Linked DNA regions of Homo sapiens: regions 1, 2, 4 and 5 are each linked to region 3. Evidence: promoter capture Hi-C in 16 types of primary human blood cells and fetal thymus (Javierre and others, 2016). All regions are on one chromosome and are shown on one strand. The core of a region is centred on a gene start or on the middle of the fragment in contact, and the rest is flanking DNA. Distances in the headings are between cores, read along the strand shown.

What was found. Contacts are between HindIII fragments. The CHiCAGO score rates a contact against its expected background, and 5 or more counts as called.
Region 1: a contact is called between a fragment that was not itself captured here and the fragment with the promoter of LINC02482 in region 3, in 1 of 17 cell types (total B cells). The highest score is 5.1, in total B cells.
Region 2: a contact is called between a fragment that was not itself captured here and the fragment with the promoter of LINC02482 in region 3, in 1 of 17 cell types (neutrophils). The highest score is 6.4, in neutrophils.
Region 4: a contact is called between a fragment that was not itself captured here and the fragment with the promoter of LINC02482 in region 3, in 8 of 17 cell types (naive CD4 T cells, total CD8 T cells, neutrophils and 5 more). The highest score is 9.2, in naive CD4 T cells.
Region 5: a contact is called between a fragment that was not itself captured here and the fragment with the promoter of LINC02482 in region 3, in 5 of 17 cell types (naive CD4 T cells, naive CD8 T cells, neutrophils and 2 more). The highest score is 8.5, in naive CD4 T cells.

The regions. Positions count from the first base shown.
Region 1 is chr4:6,587,944-6,590,643 of GRCh38, reverse strand. It overlaps MAN2B2 (mannosidase alpha class 2B member 2), which reads right to left. Exons shown (of 19, transcript NM_015274.3): 5 at 1,484-1,599. Among named protein-coding and RNA genes, the nearest start is that of MAN2B2, 14 kb to the right of the region's middle. The HindIII fragment of the contact is 9,387 bases long and covers 1-2,700 here.
Region 2 is chr4:6,569,266-6,571,965 of GRCh38, reverse strand. All of the region lies in intron 1 of LOC105374365 (a long non-coding RNA gene), which reads right to left. Among named protein-coding and RNA genes, the nearest start is that of MAN2B2, 4.6 kb to the left of the region's middle. The HindIII fragment of the contact is 5,024 bases long and covers 1-2,700 here.
Region 3 is chr4:6,672,431-6,675,130 of GRCh38, reverse strand. LINC02482 (long intergenic non-protein coding RNA 2482) reads left to right here and starts at 1,250. Exons shown (of 2, transcript NR_134665.1): 1 at 1,250-1,447. It overlaps MRFAP1L2 (Morf4 family associated protein 1 like 2), which reads right to left and starts at 1,056. Exons shown (of 1, transcript NM_138699.3): 1 at 1-1,056. The coding sequence starts at 918. The coding sequence ends at 559. RefSeq lists a silencer at 752-981 and an enhancer at 1,454-2,062. The HindIII fragment of the contact is 2,330 bases long and covers 1-1,652 here.
Region 4 is chr4:6,794,677-6,797,376 of GRCh38, reverse strand. The region is part of intron 1 of KIAA0232; the gene reads right to left. Among named protein-coding and RNA genes, the nearest start is that of KIAA0232, 13 kb to the right of the region's middle. The HindIII fragment of the contact is 5,038 bases long and covers 1-2,700 here.
Region 5 is chr4:6,769,309-6,772,008 of GRCh38, reverse strand. No RefSeq gene overlaps it. Among named protein-coding and RNA genes, the nearest start is that of KIAA0232, 12 kb to the left of the region's middle. The HindIII fragment of the contact is 1,922 bases long and covers 308-2,229 here.

The sequences.
Region 1 (2,700 bases), core at 61-2,560, 85 kb after region 3:
ATAGAGGCAGGGAGATCACTGGGGTTGAGGGCAGGTGAGCTTGGAGGGTGTTAGAGAGACACTGGACAGTGCCCTGGAGGACCGTGGACGGGATGGGGTGCCGATGGATGGCTCCTGGAAGTCAGCACATTCAACTTCCTCACCTGGCAGGTACGGACAGGCGAGGCGAGAGCAGAAGGGGACCTGTCATGGCCAGGAAGGAGGTTCTTGGGAACACTGATGTAAAGACCTCATCATTGATTGATTGATTGATTGATTGAGACAGAGTCTTGCTCTGTGGCCCAGGCTGGAGTGCAAGTGGTGCAATATTGGCTTACTGCAACCTGTGCCTCCCGGGTTCAAGTGATTCTCCTGCCTCAGCCTCCCAAGTAGTTGGGATTACAGGGATGCGCCACAACACCCAGCTAATTTTTTTTTTCTTTTTTTGTATTTTCAGTAGAGACGGGGTTTTGCCATGTTGGCCAGGCTGGTCTCAAATTCCTGACCTGAAGTGATCCACCTGCCTTGGCTTCCCAAAGCGCTGGGATTACAGGCATGAGCTACTGTGCCCGGCCTATTTTTTTTTTTATTTTAAATAGAGACAGGTTCTCACTCTGTTGCCCAGGCTGGAGTGCAGTGGTACCATCAGAGCTCACTGTAGCCTCCAACTCCTGGATTCAGGCGACCCTTCTGCCTCAACCTCCTAAGCATCTAGGACTGCATGCACCCAGCTAATTTTTAAGTTTTTGTAGAGATAGGTTCTCACTAGGAAGCCCAGGCTGGTTTTGAACTCCTGGACTCAAGTGATTGTCCTGCCTCAGCCTCCCAAAGTGCTGGGATTACAGGCATGAGGCACCGCACCCAGCCAAGATCTCATCCTTTAAACAATCCTCTTTTGGGACAGGGACTCATAACAAGAAGCAATTCAGAGTCACACAGAACTGGAGTCAAATCCTGCCTCCCCTACTTACCAGCTGGGTGACCCTGATCTGGTCACTTACCCTCTCTGAACCTCAGTTTCCACATCTGTAAAATGGGGTTGATAACCCCACCCACTCTGCTGGGGAGGCTGAAGAATGGGACACCATGTGCTTAAGGAGCTCTTGTCAAAAACTGCAGAATAGGGCTGGGCGCGGCGGCTCATGCCTATAATCCTAGCACTTTGGGAGGCCAAGGCAGGTGGATCATCTCAGGTCAGGAGTTTGAGACCAGCCTAGATAACATGGTGAAACTCCCTCTCTACTAAAAAGACAAAAATTAGCTGGGTGTGGTGGTGGGTGCCTATAATCCTAGCTACTCAGGAGGCTAAGGCAGAAGAATCGCTTGAACCCAGGAGGCGGAGGTTGCAGTGAGCCAAGATTGCGCTACTGCACTCCGGCCTGGGCAACAGAGCAGAAGCTCTTGTCTTAAAACCAATAAACAAAAACAAAACTGCAGAACAGCTGCAGGGGCTGGGCAGACCCTGCTGTCTGAGATCCCAAAGGCACTGCGGAAGGGCACGTACCTGTTGGAGAAAGGGATGTGGGACGGGGTGCAGTAGCTGTACTGGTCCATGATGTGCGTGAAGATTTCCTGCCGCTCTGAGAGGGATGGGGACCCTCGCCACACGAACTGCAGCCCCTGCAAACCGAGGAGAAGAATGAGGCTGGAGGGGCCACATGGCTGCCCCAGCTCCACTTCCCTCAGCCCCATCTGGGTGTCTCCCGCCTGCCCTCACCTTGGCCCTCCCTCAGTGGTTCAAGGATGAGCTCTCCCCTGCCGTTTCCGTCTAAGACTGGTTGTGGGATTTGCCCTCCGGAAGGAGTGCTCATTCACCCCACCCACTCCTCGATGCAGGCTTTTCTCTGCCAAACCCTGTAGAATTAGCACCTTCTAACTCTGCTTGAATGCCCCCAGGTGCAGGAAGCTCATTACTTCTCACCAAGTGTGCAGTTTATTTTTTTATTTTTTATTTTTTACAGAGTCTCACTCTGTCACCCAGGAGTGCAGTGTCACGATCTCAGCTCACTGAAACCTTCACCTCCCTGGTTCAAGCGATTGTCCTGCCTCAGCCTCCTGAGTAGCTGGGATTTCAGCCACTTGCTACCACGCCCGGCTAATTTTTGTATTTTTAGTAGAGACGGGGTTTTGCCATGTTGGCCAGGCTGGTTTCGAACTCTTGACTTCATGTGATCTGCCCACCTCCCAAAGGGCTGGGATTACAGGCGTGAGCCACTGTGCCCACTGGAAATGGGGTCTTTACAGAAGTAATCAAGTTAAAATGAGGTCATTAGGGTGGGCCCTAATACAATAGGATGGGTGTCCTCAGAAAAAAGGAAAATTGAGACACAAACATGCACCCAGGGAAGATGATACGGGGGCACTGAAAGAAGCGGGGCATCCACAAGCCAAGGAGAGAGGCCTGGAGCAGCCCCTTCCCTCACACCTTCAGAGGGAGCGTGGCCCTGCTGACACCTTGACCCTGGACTTCCAGCCTCCAGAACCATGGGACAATATGTTTCTATTGCTTGAGTCACCAGTCTGTGGTCCTTTGTTATGGCAGCCCTAGCAAATGATGACACCGTCCCATAAGGTTGCTGTGAGGGTTAAAAGAAATGCAGGATGAAGCTGGGCACCAGTGGCTCCCGCCTGTAATACCAGCACTTTGGGAGGCTGAGGTGGGCGGATCGCTTGAGGACAGGAGTTCGAGACCAGCCTGGCCAACATGGTGAAACCCCGTCT
Region 2 (2,700 bases), core at 167-2,666, 100 kb after region 3:
GGGCGGGCTTGTGACACACTTGTTACAAAGAGAATGTAGTGAAAGTTGTACTGTGTGACTTCCATGACATCCATGTTCACTGGAGCACTCGTGCCTGGAGGCCTGAGTTGCCCTGTCAGCAGTCCAACTACCCTGAGGCCACCATGCTGTGAGGAAGCCCAACCAGCCCACATGGGGCAGACCACAGGGAGCAGCTCAAGATCACCATGCTGTTTCAGCTCCAGCCCCCCATCTGACTACAACAACATGTGAGACCTCATGTCATTTTCTCTCCTGCCCACTGTATCACAGCTGTGTAGGGTTTCATTTGTACTTTCCTCAAGGCTCTTGCGTGAGCTCTTGCTGCAGCTAGTCTCAGGCTTGAAGGTGATACTCACAACCCCCTCCTGGATTATTCATTCAGATCCCTTTCACCCTCAGCTAGACCCATGCTGGACTAGATAGCTTACCTGGTGGGTTGCCCCAGATCCTCACCAACGAGGATGAGCCCCTGGTGACCATTCCCTTCTTGAGCCATAGCTGCTCACTTGCCTATTTGCTGACTACATCAGGTGAAAGAGTCCTGAGGGACACCCATGTGGGTGGCACACAGTCTTCTCTGCTTCCATTGTGTGACAGCAACCCTACCTCCTCTGATGGTTCAGGTCAACTGCCCCTGCTCGATGGGTGACTCTTCCCCTGCCTACTGGTGTCTTGACATGAGTAGCCTGGCGTGACTGGTGTCGCTTGGTGGAAGCATTCCCCTTTGGAAACCAGAACCTCTGAACCTACAGAATCTGTAGTTGTGTGGACAGGAAGCACATATTCTCCAAGTAGGTCACTGAGAGTGATGCTAAATTAGGCTATTCCTGCTTCCATTCTTTGGTTCTTAGGCCCAGGTATTTTACCCACTGGGGACATCGTGTACTGGTCATTGACTTGGGATGTACATACACCCTGGAGGATGGTGCCCTTGCTTCACAGGTGGCACCTCCAAGCTGGTGCTGTGGCTGAGCCTTCAACTGGCCACTCCATTTCCCCATCAGCCAGCAGCCTCTGGGTTGTACAGCACATAATAGGACCACTAGACACCATGGGTGTGCCTGCGGTTGCACCTCTTTTGCTGTGAAGTGGAGCCCTTGGCCTGATGTGATGTTACACCCTCGCTTGGGGCTCTAATACTGGAGCAAGCCGGCCACCATGTCATGAGGACTCTCAAGCCATCTGTGGAGAGGCCCATCTACAGAGGAACAGAGGCCTCCCACCAACAGCCGGCACTGTCTTGCCAGCCCGGGTGTGAGTGCCTTGGAAGCAGGCCCTCCAGCCCAGGCCCAGCCATTCCAGAGGACATCCTGACTGCAACCTCAGGGAGGCCCACAAGGCACAACACACAGCGAAGCCACCCTGGATTCTTCACCTGCAGACACCGGGATGATCATAAACGTCTATTGCTGCTTTCAGCCACATTTCTTGAAATATTTGGGTATTTTTCCCTAGTGTCTGGTTACCTGAGTCAATGAGCATCAGTCCTGTTGGGGAAGGAGTAGGGGATTCCCATAGGCCTTTGTTACGATGTTGCAGAGTCCTTCTTCCTGGAAACACGCTTTTCCTTTCAGTGGATGGGATCTGGACTTGAAAACTGGCTCAGGTCTGGACACTGGGCAAGGGATCAGGATTTATCTTTGGGTGGCTACCCTCAACTTCCTAACCCCATCTGCCTTGATTTGTCCAGAGAGGATGGGCCAAGTCTCACCTGTGTCAGCCATCCATCTATCTTGCCTCTTTCTTTCTTTCTTTCCTTCCTTCTTTCTTTCTTTTTCTTTCTTTCTTTCTTTCTTTCTTTCTTTCTTTCTTTCTTTCTTTCCTTCTTTTTCTTTCTTTCTCTCCTTTCTCCTTCCTTCCTTTCTCTCTTTCCTTCCTTCCATCTCATTCCTTCCTTCCTTCCCTTCCCTTCCCTCCCTCCCTTTCTTTCGTCTCTCTTTCTCCTTCCTTCCTCTCTCTCTTTTCTTCCTCCCTTCCTTCCTCCATCTCCTTCCTTCCTTTCTTTCGCTTTCTTTCTTTCTATCTTTCTCCTTCCTTTCTTCCTTCTCCTTCCTTCCATCTCCTTCCTTCCTTCCTTCCCTCCCTCCCTCCCTCCTTTCTTTTTCTTTCTTCCTTCCTTCCTTCTTTCCTTCCTTCCTTCTTTTCTTTTCTTTCTTTCTCTCTCTCTTTCTTTCTTTCTTTCTCTCTCTCTCTCTTCCTTTCTTTCTTTCTTTCTTTCTTTCTTTCTTTCTCTCTCTCTCTCTCTCTCTCTCTTTCTTTCTTTCTTTCTTTCCTCTCTTTCTCTCTTTCTTCTTTCTTTTTTTTGGAGTTTTACTCTTGTTGCCCAGGCTGGAGTGCAATGGCATGATCATGGCTCACTGCAACCTCCACCTCCTGTGTTCAAGCAATTCTCCTGCCTCAGCCTCCCGAGTAGCTGGGATTACAGGAGCCAGCCACCACGGCCTGGCTAATTTTTTTTTTTTTTTAAGTAGAGATGGGGTTTCACCATGTCGGCCAGGTTGGTCTTGAACTCCTGACCTCAGGTGATCTACCTGCCTCAGACTTTCAAAGTGCTAGGATTATAGGCATGAGCCACCACACCCGGCCAGGTGCCGTTTTCTATCAAGCATCTCCATGGCTCGCCGTGGACCTCACTGTGTTCCAGCCTTGGTGCTTGTTAAAGTGATTGCACTGACCTTG
Region 3 (2,700 bases), core at 1-2,500:
TACTGGAAATTGAGTGGCTAATGTGGAGAAAACGCAGGCAGAAAAACAGGGGAGACAAAACGAAAGGCTCTCTTGGTTTGAGCCTGTCCAAGCAGCCACGACTCCTTATCAGGTGAACACAGTTCGTCAGTTGGCCACCTAAAGTACAAGTGGGAGAAATTCATCATCACAACATAAATTTTGAGCTTGATATTCTCATATCCGGGAGTCAAACAAACCCAACCACCTGTGCACAATGCTTCCACCTGCAGGAAGGTCATCGCAAACGCTCCAATCTCGTAACAACATTCACACGTTTCCAGCATGTACCTCCGCTTCACACCTCTCTCCCCCCACGTAGTGACCCACCAGGTCTACGTCCTGAAAATACTTCCAGTGGTCATGACTCTTTACAACAACATATCAAATTATTTTCTCTAATTACCTATGAAAAAAGAATGAAACCAACTCCGCGGAGAGCGTGGCACGGCTCTGCGCTCCCCTCCCTGCCTACCCAGCGCCTTCCACGCGGGACACTCCCCGCCGCGCTCCGCTCCAGACCCGCGCGGCCTCGCCGGCTCAGCAGCACTCGCAGCCGGCGATCCGCTGGTGCAGCTCCACGATCCGCCTGCCCATCCGCGCCGCCTCCGCAGCCTTCCTCTCTGCTTCGGCGCACAGCCGAGCCACCCGCTCCTCAGCCTCCGCACGCGGGCGGGGTGCTGGGGCCCGGGCGCCCCGCTCCTCTGCCTCCACCTCACTCTTGATGGCGTCGAGCAGGCTCTGGATCTCCAGCAGCTTCCTGCGGGCCCGCCAGTGCGCCCGGGCGCGCTCGCGCTCCAGGGAGGCCAGGTTCTCGCGGCCGGCGCGGGGCGCGGGGCTCAGCGGGCTGCCCGGCTCCTCGCGGGGCTCCCGCGCCTCGTCCGCGTCCACGGGCCGCATCACGCCGCCGCCTCTTCCAGCCCGCGGGGCACGCCGGGGCTGCTCACCAGCAGCGAGCGCGGAAGCCTCGCTGTCACCAACGACCAGACTAGCAACAGGTTGCCCCAACTTTCCGCAGCGAGGACGGTATCCAAAATGGGCTACTAGCCGTCGGCCAGGACGCTGCCACTGCGGCCCTTTTACGACACCTGCGGTCCTTTACCGCCACGCAGCAAGCGAGAACCGCATTCGGGGCTCCCGCCTCAGCGGTCCTGCGCGCGCACGCGCACTTGCACGCACGCGTACCCCCCCGCACGCATGCGCACCCCATGTCCCCGCCCGCTGTAGCGCCACAGCTCTTTGGGCGTTGATTCTAGGGTCAGGGCCCTCACTCACACTGCTGGAAGGTTAAAGTCGACTTCACGCTAGTTTAAGGAAATATCTGACGCTGATAACCATGTCCCAAGCACTGCTCTAAGTTCCCAATGTGTCCGGAATTGGTGGGTTCTTGGTCTCACTGACTTCAAGAATGAAGCCACGGACCCTCGCGGTGAGTGTTACAGCTCTTAAAGTGGCGCGTCTGGAGTTTGTTCCTTCTGATGTTCGGATGTGTTCGGAGTTTTTTCCTTCTGGTGGGTTCGTGGTCTCGCCGGCTCAGGAGTGAAACTGCAGACCTGTTACGGCTCATAAAGGCAGTGTGGACCCAAAGAGTGAGCAGCAGCAGGATTTATTGCAAAGAGAGAAAGAACAAAGCTTCCACAATAGAAGGGGACCTGAGCCGGTTGCCACTGCTGGCTCCGGCAGCCTGCTTTTATTGTCTTATCTGGCCCCACCCACATCCTGCTGATTGGTAGAGCCGAGTGGTCTGTTTTGACAGGGTGCTGATTGGTGCGTTTACAATCCCTGAGCTAGACACAAAGGTTCTCCAAGGCCCCAGCAGAGTCGATTGGTATATTCACAAACCCTGAGCTAGACACACGGTGCTGATTGGTGTATTTACAATCCCTGAGCTAGACATAAAGGTTCTCCACATCCCCACCAGACTCAGGAGCCCAGCTGGCTTCACCAAGTGGATCCCACACCAGGGCTGCAGGTGGAGCTGCCTGCGAGAACGGCACCGTGCGCCCACACTCCTCAGCCCTTGGGTGGTGATGGGACTGGGCGCCGTGGAGCAGGGGGTGGTGCTCGTCGAGGAGGCTCGGGCAGCACAGGAGCCCATGGAGGGGGTGGGAGGCTCAGGCATGGCGGGCTGCAGGTCCCGAGCCCTGCCCCTCGGAAAGGCAGCTAAGGCCCGGTGAGAAATCGAGCACAGCGCCGGTGGGCTGGCACTGCTGAGGGACCCAGTACACCCTCCGCAGCCGCTGGCCCGGGTGCTAAGCCCCTCATTGCCGGGGGCTGGCAGGGCCAGCCGGCTGCTCCGAGTGCGGGGCCCACCAAGCCCACGCCCACCCTGAACTCCAGCTGGCCCGCAAGCGCCGTGTGCAGCCCCGGTGCCCGCTCGCGCCTCTCCCTCCACACCTCCCTGCAAGCTGAGAGAGCCGGCTCTGGCCTTGGCCAGCCCAGAAAGGGGCCTCCACAGTGCAGCAGTGGGCTGAAGGGCTCCTCAAGTGCTGCCAAAGTGGGAGCCCAGGCAGAGGAGGCACCGAGAGTGAGCGAGGGCTGTGAGGACTGCCAGCACACTGTCACCTCTCACCAACATTCTAAATCATAAACACCCAGGCCGGGCGTGTGGCTCACGCCTATAATCCCAGCACTTTGGGAGGCTGAGGTGAGAGGATCGCTTGAGCTCAGGAGTTCCATACC
Region 4 (2,700 bases), core at 147-2,646, 120 kb before region 3:
CCTGGAGGCATTTTGAGAAGATGACAGGCCTGAACCTCAAGACAGAGAGAAAATGGCAACCAGCTCTGACCCCACTTTAGCCAATGGCAAAATGCAGGGTGCTACCTGATCTTTTTCAACGTCATCTTTTGCCCACCCTGGCAAGGCCTAAGTAAGTTCCAGTCAGAGGAGCTTCAGTTTCCATGACAGTTTCTATCTCATGGCTTTGGAAAAAACTGTTAAAACACTGCTCTTAAATGTGCAAGTGTGTTTTTTGGGAAATGAAATAATAAAATACAGAGGAAAAAAGTATAATGTCTAAAGAAAAAACAATCTGCCTGATACTACACTGTTATAGCTACCAACATATTAAAAAGAAGTCGACGTGCTGCATGAGGAAGGCTCTCCAACTGACTGTTGTCAGTAAATGTCCCAAAGTCTGTTCCTATGAGATGATCAGGACAGAAGGCAGTGCCAAAGGATGCTGACTAACATAACCAAGTGACCAACATATAAACCAGAAAACCAAGAATGGAAACGAAGCCCTCCCATCACGGTAGCTAAGGCCACTCAAGGAGCCTACTTGAACATTCTCAAAGACACCCTACGAGCTCAGAAAGAGCAAAAGGAAGGTAAGATATTCTTATGGTAGTTTTACTAAGTGAAGATTACAAGCTGAAAGAAAACCGTGTGACCAAACTTTTAAGGGCCATAAGAGTCACCTTCTTGCACTAACTGTGTCAAATCTTATAAATGTGTGCTTCCTTTTCTACTATCATGATTGATTCCTCAGATAGGCTATGTTAGAGCTTTCTTTAAACAGGTGGCATGAAACTCACTTAAAAAAGAACAATATGGTCGGGTGTGGTGGCTCACGCCTGCAATCCCAGCACTTTGGGAGGCCAAGGCAGGCAGATCACCTGAGGTCAGGAGTTTGAGGCCAGCCTGGTCAACATGGCAAAATGCTGTCTCTATTAAAAATACAAAAATTAGCCAGGGGTGGTGGCACACACCTGTAGTCCCAGTGACTTGGGAGGCTGAGACATAAGAATCGCTTGAACCCAGGAGGCAGAGGCTGCAGTGAGCTGAGATCGTGCCACTGCACTCCAACCTGGGTGACAGAACAAGACTCTGTCTCCAAAAAAAAAAAGAACAATATAGGGAAGGATCTCAATCCTATCCTGATCCTACAGACCATCTCCAGGACTCGTTCACTTCTACGAATAACCAATTCCACATATTACATATTAATTAGACCTAGTTTCTGATACTTTCCTTTTACTCAAGTTCTAATCAAATTTTAGTGCAGCTCACTTACGCACAAACCACACCTCTCATCATCCTCTCCTCACCCAGTCCACACCCTCGCTGGCTCCTCCGCTGGCTGCTCCTCCTCTTCCCAGCTTTCCAGGCTCTGCCCTTGGACTTCTCTATTTCCATTCGCTTCCTCCACCAGTGCCTTCAAGAGCAAAATAATGCCAGTCATATATGTAATTAAAATTTTCTAGGCCAAGTGCAGTGGTTCATTCCTGTAACCCCAGCACTTGCGGAGGCCAAGGCAAGCGGACTGCATGAGAGCAGGAGTTTGAGCTCAGCCTGGGCAACATAGTGAGACCCAGTCTCTACAAAAAAAGTAAATTAGCTGGATGCAGTGGCGCATGCCTATAGTCCCAGCTACTCAGGAGGCTGAAATGGGAGGACTACTTGAGCCTGGGAGACCAAGGCTGCAAGAAGCTGTGAATGTACCACCGCACTCCAGCCTAGGTGACAGTGATGTCCTAGCTCAAAAAATAAATAAATATATTTCTAGTAGCCATATTAAAAAAGAAACAGGTGAAATTAACTTTAATATGTTTGATTTAACCCAGTATATCCAAAATAATATCACTCCAAATATAATGAAGGTAAAAATTAATGATATATGTTACATTGTAATTTTTCACACTGTCTTTGGCATCTGGTACATAATTGACACAGCGCATCTCAATTCAGATTAGCTGCATGCAAAGTTCAAAAGCCACATGTGGGCCGGGCGCGGTGGCTCACGCCTGTGATCCCAGTACTTTGGGAGGCTGAAGCAGGCGGATCACAAGGTCAGGAGATCGAGATCATCCTGGCTAGCACGATGAAACCCTGTCTCTACTAAAAAATACAAAAAAATTAGCTAGGCGTGGTGGTGGGTGCCTGTAGTCCTAGCTGCTCAGGAGGCTGAGGCAAGAGAATGGCATGAACCCGGAAGGCGGAGCTTGCAGTAAGCCGAGATCATGCAATTGCACTCCAGCCTGGGCGACAGAGTGAGACTCCATCTCAAAAACAAAACAAAACAAAACATGTGGCTTGTGGCTGCCTTATTTAACTGCGCAATCTGGCTTACCTCTTCTAGTCCCATGATTATAAATACCACCTATGCAGAGACTGCTCCATCCTTTCCCTCTACCCTGCTTCTTTCTCTTTAATTCCAGAACTCTAATGCTACCAAGCTACTAGACAAGGAGATATCTGACTGGCATCTCAAACTTATAACATGTCTAAAGCCAAACAACACAACCCTGAATTCTCACCACCATTACCCTTGCCATGACCTTCCCCATGTCAGTCAAGGGCAACCCCACGCTATGATGGCTCCTCCTCGCACATCCCACATCTCGTCCATCAGCAAACCCTCTTAGGTGTACCTTCATCATGGATGCAGAACCAAGGCCTTTCACTTGCTCTCCTCTA
Region 5 (2,700 bases), core at 19-2,518, 97 kb before region 3:
GGGACTTTGCTGATGGGATTAAGGCTATGGATCTTGAGAAGGAGAGATCGTGACCCCCTGCTTTATAACCTCCCTTGGCTCCCCATCGTCCCCACAGTCCCAGGCTCCCTGCTTTCCTAGCGCAACCCTCCATCCTGTCCCTATAGACACCCCAGCCTCCAGATGTACCCAGGTACTTACACTTCTCTCAATGGGACATGCTTGTCACACCTCTCTGCCTTTGCAAATGCTGGTCCCACTGCCTGGAAAGCCCCCCGCCACTCTGCTTAACAACTGTTTTCTCCAGTGTGTCCTCTTTCTGGAAGCTTACCTTGTGTTCCCCCAGGTGGGTGAGGGGGTCTCTCTTGCAATGCTCCACTGCTAGCCCTTTCGGGCCCCCACCCCAAGGTGCCGCACTGGACAAATATGTTCTACCCACCAAGCTATGGGCTCCTCTGGGGAGCAGCTTTGCCTGCCACAACTTCGCTTCCCGGGCACCCAGCCCAGGGCCTGGCACACAGGACGGCTCAGGGAAGGACTCTCCTCTGCAGAGCAGGAGTCATGGGAAAGGCACGCATTGCTGCCCACGGCCCAGCCACTGCCCTCTCAGACCTGGCTATTTTTATTTCTTTTCCCTGCAGAGCTCAGGCCTGTGGGGCAGGTTCTCAGACCAAGCAAGTGAGACCTGCCAGATGGACTGAAGACATCTGCTGATGCTGCCCCAGCCACAGGCCAGCAGGAGTGGCCGTAGGGGCTCCTCCTCTAGGGCACAGCCCCAGACCTCAGCCAGGGAGCTTGCTACAGGCTCAGAGCCACCAGGCACCGCAGGCGCTGATGCATCCCAATGCTCAGGTCCAGCTTTGCCATGTTCTTGCTGTATGCCCAGAAGTAAATCACGTCACCTTCTTGTCTCCTTGTCTTGGCACATAGTAGGTGCTTGTAGGTGGCACTTTCTATGCTGGACCCTCTATCCTCATCAGCTTCATAATTCTCAGCTTCAGTGACTGTGCCTGCAGTAAATGAGCAGCTGCTCGGCACTGTGCTAGGTTCCCCACTTTATGAATGAGGCAATTGAGGCTCAGAGAGGCTAAGTAACTTGGCTAAGGTCACACAGCTGGCTGGTGGCAGAGCCAGGAGTTAACCCTGGGTCTTTGGACCCCACAGCCCAAGTTCACAGCCAATCGGCTTCATGACTATGGCCCCTGTGATGATCCAACCCCAAGGAAGCTGCAGCCTTGCTCCAATCCCTCCAACGATACAGCATGACAGGTGCACAGAGCTGTCTCCGTGAGGTCCCCTTATTTTGTGGACAAGCCATAGGGAGGAATGTGGCTACTCACATGAGAGGGCCCCTGCCTTCCTCCTGGAGCCACCTGGAGTCACCACACCAGGCAGCTCATCCCTGCTTGGTGACCCAATGTACAGAAAGAGCAGAGCCTTGTCCTAAGTCACACAGCATGGGAGTGACACAGCCAGAACTGGAACACAGGCCAGCCCTGTCCTGCCCTGCCATACAAGAAAGGTGGCCTGCCTGCACCTTGTCAGAAGACCCGAAAGCATTGCTGAAATTCCAGTTCCTAAATCTATGGCTTGTGCATCTCTATGGTTCCATCCCCACCACTGCAACCCCAAGGATCCTAGGACAAGGTGTGGAACAAGGATGGACAAATACATGAAAGAATTCTTCAACTCCTCTGACATTGCGTTATTACTGATTTGAATCTGGACTCATAAAGTAAGGACGTTCAGTATGTCTAAATTCTGTGACACCTTGAGGTCCCTCTTGAATGGGAGGCTCCGCAGTGAGAGTCAGGAGACTTCTTTGAATTCGAGTTGTCACACGTACCAGCTGTGGGACACCTGAGAAGTTGCTTAACCCCTCTGAGCCTGTTACCTCATCTGTAAGCTGATTCTACCCTGGAGGAGGATGAAAGTGTGATAAAACCGAGGTAATAAAACCTACCATACAGGTCATAGGGCGAATGAAATCAGAGGTAAAAGCACCTGCAGATAAGGACAAAATCACAGCAGCCCTAAAATGCACCAGGCCCTGTTTCTGTATAGATATTGTGCGGGCTTGTCCTGGAGCCAGACTGTCTGGGTTCAAGGCCTGGCTCAATTGATCACTAGCTGTGTGACCTAAGGCACATCAGTTTGAGCTCTCTGGTCCTCAGTTTCCTTATCTGTAAAATGGAGGTGATAATATGAACTACCTCACGGGGTTGTGATGAGAATTACAACCTAGAAGCTTTACATGGAGCTTCTCCATGTAAAATGATTAGTACGGTGCAGGACCGGTCAGCTGTCAACAACATCAATAACACTAAGGAACAGACCCAGAGAGAAACAGCTTGGCCACAGTCACCCTGCTAAACTCCAGGATCCGTCCACCATCACACACAAGCCCACCAGCTGCACTTAGAAACCACCCACCCTCGGGGAGTGAGCCAGGCTGAGCAGTGGGCCCCTGAGACAGCTGGGGTGTTGGGGTGCTCCATCCTTGGGCCAAGCCAGGCCTGGGGACTCTGTTATCAGCACCACATTTAGTGCCTCGAAATGGGTGTGCCCCTATTGGTCCATACTGGGTGCAGCTGCTTTTGCCCATGCTGGGTAGTAAGCAGAGGGAGACCTGGGAAGAGAGTGGGGGTGGGGAGAGGAAGGGGAGCACACAGAGGCAGCAGCTGCTCAGAAGGGGCATCCCCACAACCGCAGCTGCACCCA